2 separate regions of the Homo sapiens genome follow, and region 1 is linked to region 2. The links are contacts of gene promoters, found by promoter capture Hi-C in blood cells and fetal thymus (Javierre and others, 2016). All regions are on one chromosome and are shown on one strand. Each heading gives the region's core, a stretch centred on a gene start or on the middle of the fragment in contact. The rest is flanking DNA. Distances are from core to core; before and after follow the strand shown. Region 1 has its middle 12 kb from the start of OR6V1. Region 2 holds the start of TAS2R39 (taste 2 receptor member 39).

Region 1 (3,091 bases), core at 29-2,528, 120 kb before region 2:
CGGGAATCAAGGCAAATGAAGCTGATGATGGCCAGGTTGCCCAGCAGCATCAGCACATATATCAACAGGATCAGAGCAAACAGCAGAACCTGGAACTCATGGAGATAAGAAAATCCAAGGAGCTCCTCTGCCTAGGAAAACCAGAGACCTTTGTTCACTTGTTTATCTGCTGACCTTCCCTCCACTATTGTCCTATGACCCTGCCAAATCCCCCTCCACGAGAAACACCCAAGAATGATCAATTAAAAAAAAAAAAAAAAAAGAAAATCCCAGGAGCACAAACTCCCTGACAATGCTGTAGTTACCCATTGCACTTGATGCCCATTCTATGTGACACCTGTGAGAGGTTGAGAACTGTTAGCAGGAGATTGCCATCAACCTCTCTCTCAATCAGGTCCCCATAGTGCTGGCCTGGCTCCCCATGCACACTAGCCTGTGTGCACAGTTGACCCCAGGAGACACATTCCCAAAAGGCAGGAGTTTCCCTGGGGCGAGGAATGGATTACTGGCTGGGATGAGCAGATTTATGACTTGGCCACCTCTACATTATCACCATTCTTAAGCTCTTCCTCTTCTGTCTTCTACTCATTGATTATATTGTACAACACACTTAATAAGCTCCAACTCTGTGCAAGACATTTGGCTGGGTCTGAGGATGAAGGGGTAAACACTTCCTAACTGCCAAATGTAATGGTCTGTTGTTCAAATAATAGCTGATATTTACTGTTCTTTCCCTGTGCCAGAAGATGCGCTAGATACCTTACACATTATTTCCTTCCATCTTTTTTGCTGAATCTTCATCCTCTTTTCTTCTCTATAACATTTTCTTCTCTATAACATTTCAGGCTACAAATAACCCGTTTTTGAAGTGACTTCCACCCTTGACTGCAAGGACCCTGCACTCTTGAATTTCTCCTACCATCCTGGGTTCCCTCGTCTGTCTCCTTCTCTAGCTCCCTGTCTTTCTGCCATTTTCTAAACATGGATGACCCCACATTTCTTTTCTTATCTTTGTTTAAAAAAATTCTCTATTTTCTCCTTCAGAAATCTCACCTTCTTTAACCAAAGCAATCTTTAAAATGTAAATGAATTTCAAATCTGGATTTTGTCCTCCTCTGAGTCCCGGCCCACATCTCTAACCACCAGATTGACCACCACCACACATTCAACACATCTAAAGATACACACCTAGTCCTCCCCTCCCGCAAAGGCCATGTTTATGGCTCCCAATTCCCCAGTCATCTGGGCTGGAAACTGGAAGCATCTAGCCCTCCTTTGTTTATCCATATCCACCACCCTAGTTCAAGGATCTGTTTCCTCTTAACCATTGCAACAACACTCTTAATTTTTTTTTTATTGGTAGATTGCTCAATCACCAACCTATCCAGGCACCATGCTGCTATTATATTTTATTTTCTTAAGTTATTGTGTCAATCAACTGTTTTTAATAATCTGTAACAAGGCCGGGCATGGTGGCTCACGCCTGTAATCCCAGCACTTTGGGAGGCTGAGGGCGGGTGGATCATCTGAGGTCGGGAGTTCGAGACCATCGTGGCCAACATGGAGAAACCCCATCTCTACTAAAAATACAAAATTAGCCGAGTGTGGTGGTGTGTGCCTGTAATCCCAGCTACCCAGGAGGCTGAGGCAGAAGAATCGCTTGAATCTAGGAGGTGGAGGTTGCAGTGAGCTGAGATCATGCCATTGCACTCCAGCCTGGGCAACAAGAGCAACACTCTATCTCAAAAATAAATAAATAAATAAAAATAACCTGTAACAATGAGATTTCATTTATAATTACTTTCAAAATCAATCAAACTAGCTAGCCATCTATCTTCATCCAGAAAAAGAGTAAAAGGATGCATTTTAAAATATTAACAATGGCTATATCTGGGTGTGGGTTATAGGAGTTTACTTTTAAAAATCTTGTATTGAAATTATACATATTTAAACTGTTGTATTAGTCTGTTCTCACGCTGCTATAAGGACACACCCAAGACTGGGTAATTTATAAAGAAAAGAGGTTTAATTGACTGACAGTTTGGCATGGCTGGGGAGGCTTCAGGAAACCTATGATCATGGCCGAAGGGGGAGCAAACACGTCCTTCTTCACATGGCAGCAGCAAGGAGAAGTGCAGAGCACAGGAGTGAAAAAGCCCCTTATAAAACTATCAGATCTCGTGAGAACTTACTCTCTATCACGAGAACAGCATGGAGGTAACCACCCCCATGAGTCAATTACCTCCCACTGGGTCCCTCCCACAACATGTGGGGATTATGGGAACTACAATTCAAGATGAGATTTGCGTGGGGACACAGCCAAACCATATGAAATGTATATCATGAGGTTTGGATAGAAATATACATAGTAAACTTATTACGACAGTCAAGCTAATTAATATATCCATCTCTTCATATAGTTACCATTTTTCACATGTAGTGAGATGACCTAAGATCTACCCTCTTAGCAAATGTCAAGTATACAATACAGTATCATTACCTGTAATCCCCATGCTGAACATTAGTTCGCTAGAACTTATTCTTCCTGCCCAACTGAAACCTTGTACCCTCTGTTCTTCTATATGTCCACATTCATTTCCAAATTCTCTTCATTTAAATTTGAATTCTCTTCATATATTATTTTAGTGATAAAAAAATTAACAACAATAATCTCTTCCTTTTTCAGTCAAATCAAGCACAGATTCTCCCTGGCAACTCCTGCCCTACATGACTCTCCCCATTCACCACCCCCCATAGCTTCACCCCCACCTCCTTGTCACACACTTTGTGATACCACTGAACTGAACCCTTGATATTCTCCATAAGTTAATTCCACTTTGCCTTCACACACTTCCCTTTTTATTCCTGTGCTTAGAATACTTTGTTCTGCCATCTTTGCCTGGCAAATTCTTAATCACCCACCAGGGACTATCTCAAATGTCCCCTCCTTTATGAAGCTTCATCCTCATCCAGATGTGAAGTCATCCTGCCTGGAGTTCCCAATCAGGAAAGTTAACAAGATCTGCCTTGCATTATAATTGTGTACAGTCAGATTCCAAATCCTGGATTCCTAGTTTCTCAGTGTCAGGGC
Region 2 (3,127 bases), core at 451-2,950:
CGTGGAACTGCCATTCCTCCTCATGTCTCTCATAAAGAGCTTCTCTGAGCTGAAGGTCTTCACTAAGGCCATATATCAACCCAGCAAGTATCTATGTACTGCCTCCTGGGTGTCTGGCATGGGCTAGGGGCTCAGAGTGGGATACATGGATAAACAAATCAAATGAGGAAAGACGCAACAGCCTCTGAAGGGACCATGTCCTGTTTCTCCTCCCACTCTTGGAAGCCTGGATCAGCAGAAGTAGGGGAAAGCCAGTGGCAAGAAAAATCCTCTTTAAAACCAAACTGGAGGTCCTGAGATACTCCAGGCCTACTTGTGCAAATGGGTAGAAACAAGCAGAGAGGAGCAGTTGTCTATTACGCTGTATTCAAGGGAAATATTTGTTCAGGAATAGTGATTTTCAAATGAGATGGTAAAATTCGTAACAACTCATCTAAAATCATTAATCAAGCCAGAAAACGTTTATGAGTTCTTGCCTTGTTTTTAAAAGGCTTTAAGTAAAAACCAAATGTTATAAAGATTTTCTGAGACTTCTCACCCACCAACTTTCTCTTTATTAGAATTATTACTTCATCATTATTTTAAAGTTACATACATTCATAAAAATTAATTTACCCTGAAATGAAAAGTCCATTTTATCATTATGTGTCCTATGCTTGCGTTTTAAAATCAGAAAAAAATTCCTTAAGATAAAAGTGATTCTTTTTTCCTTTCTTTTTGTTTTAATATTCCAAAATTGGATGAATTGGGACATTGCTTTTATTCTCAGGTTCGCTAGCTTACCTTGCTAGGAACTAGGGAGTTTTACCTTCAACTCTTATTTTCCTAGTTTTGCTTAAAATGAAAGGTGAATATGTGTGTGTGTGTGTGTGTGTGTATGATCTTTTATGTATAATTAAATTTATTACCTCTCAAGTAATCTACTTTGAAAAGAGAGTCCTATCTCTTAAAAATCAGTGTCTTCTTGCTTTATTGATTTTTCTTTAGAGGGTGGGGACATAAAAGGCTACCAGGAAAAAAATGTCATAGTGGAATCAACCCTGCATTTAGTCTTGGGCACACAAAAGAATCCACAGGTCTAGGTAGCATAACATGGTGGATAAGAGGAGGAACTCTGCGACCAGGTGACTTGGGTTTGAATCCCAGTTCTATCACGCTCTAGTTGTGTGATGTTGGCCAAGTTATTTAACCTCTGTATGCCTTAGTTTCTTCATCTGCAAAATGGAGGTAATAGAAGCACATGCTCATAAGGTTGTTGTGAGGTTTAAATGTAGTAATTATAAATAAATCATTTGAAAATTTCTTAGCACAAAATGAGAAGTGCGTGTGTGTGTGTGTATGTGTGTAGCAGTTTTTATTTTCAATCATTTTCTGCAGTCACAAGTGAAAGTAAGTTAAATGATGACTCAGTTAACCAATGTTCAAATTAACTGATGCTACCAAAGAACACGGACCTCAGTACCATGTTAGCTGCTTTTAAAGAGTCTACTCAAGCGCTTCCCTGGGCCTCATTATTGAACCACTACCAACATGTTCAAAAATAGAGAGAGGATTAGAAACCAAATCCTTCCAACATTTGCATCTCTAGATGTAGAGCTAAGAATTCTGAAATAAACAAATGCAGTGAATTTGGAAATGATACATCAATTGCTTCCTCCTATGACATCAATACTGGGAGTTATCAAGAGTCTGCCCATCAAATGCTAGGGAGATGTTTTCCTCCAGACACCAAAGAGAAGCAACAGCTCAGAATGACTAAACTCTGCGATCCTGCAGAAAGTGAATTGTCGCCATTTCTCATCACCTTAATTTTAGCAGTTTTACTTGCTGAATACCTCATTGGTATCATTGCAAATGGTTTCATCATGGCTATACATGCAGCTGAATGGGTTCAAAATAAGGCAGTTTCCACAAGTGGCAGGATCCTGGTTTTCCTGAGTGTATCCAGAATAGCTCTCCAAAGCCTCATGATGTTAGAAATTACCATCAGCTCAACCTCCCTAAGTTTTTATTCTGAAGACGCTGTATATTATGCATTCAAAATAAGTTTTATATTCTTAAATTTTTGTAGCCTGTGGTTTGCTGCCTGGCTCAGTTTCTTCTACTTTGTGAAGATTGCCAATTTCTCCTACCCCCTTTTCCTCAAACTGAGGTGGAGAATTACTGGATTGATACCCTGGCTTCTGTGGCTGTCCGTGTTTATTTCCTTCAGTCACAGCATGTTCTGCATCAACATCTGCACTGTGTATTGTAACAATTCTTTCCCTATCCACTCCTCCAACTCCACTAAGAAAACATACTTGTCTGAGATCAATGTGGTCGGTCTGGCTTTTTTCTTTAACCTGGGGATTGTGACTCCTCTGATCATGTTCATCCTGACAGCCACCCTGCTGATCCTCTCTCTCAAGAGACACACCCTACACATGGGAAGCAATGCCACAGGGTCCAACGACCCCAGCATGGAGGCTCACATGGGGGCCATCAAAGCTATCAGCTACTTTCTCATTCTCTACATTTTCAATGCAGTTGCTCTGTTTATCTACCTGTCCAACATGTTTGACATCAACAGTCTGTGGAATAATTTGTGCCAGATCATCATGGCTGCCTACCCTGCCAGCCACTCAATTCTACTGATTCAAGATAACCCTGGGCTGAGAAGAGCCTGGAAGCGGCTTCAGCTTCGACTTCATCTTTACCCAAAAGAGTGGACTCTGTGACCAGCACCCAAGAAGACCACAGGACCTGGCCTTACCAGCTCTGCCATTCCCTCACCTAGACCTCTCTTTTCTCTCTTCTTTTCTTCTCCAACCCTCATCTGACCCTTTTCGCCTGATGTGGCTTTTTATATAGGAAATTGATCATTTCTTTTTTGCTTCATGGGTACAATCTTAGTGGTACTGTCATATTCTTTACCTGAGCCCTCTACCTCCCCTTGCTCTGTTTAAAGCAGTGATTCTAAGCACTGGCTACCCATTAGAATCTCTAGGTTGATTTTTGAAAATACCAATGTTCAAACCCAATCTCAGATCTATTAAGTCAGAATTTCTAGTGTTAGAACTCACACAATTTTCTAAGATCTCCAGGTGATTCTGCTGTGCAGCAGGGTTGTATAGCCACCAAAATAGAA

Evidence for each region. Contacts are between HindIII fragments. The CHiCAGO score rates a contact against its expected background, and 5 or more counts as called.
Region 1: a fragment that was not itself captured here is called in contact with the fragment with the promoter of TAS2R39 in region 2 in 2 of 17 cell types (M2 macrophages and monocytes); the score reaches 5.3 in M2 macrophages.

The regions. Positions count from the first base shown.
Region 1 is chr7:143,063,277-143,066,367 of GRCh38, forward strand. It overlaps the pseudogene OR6W1P. Among named protein-coding and RNA genes, the nearest start is that of OR6V1, 12 kb to the left of the region's middle. The HindIII fragment of the contact is 3,354 bases long and covers 1-2,955 here.
Region 2 is chr7:143,181,719-143,184,845 of GRCh38, forward strand. It overlaps TAS2R39 (taste 2 receptor member 39), which reads left to right and starts at 1,701. Exons shown (of 1, transcript NM_176881.2): 1 at 1,701-2,717. The coding sequence starts at 1,701. The coding sequence ends at 2,717. The HindIII fragment of the contact is 8,536 bases long and covers 1-3,127 here.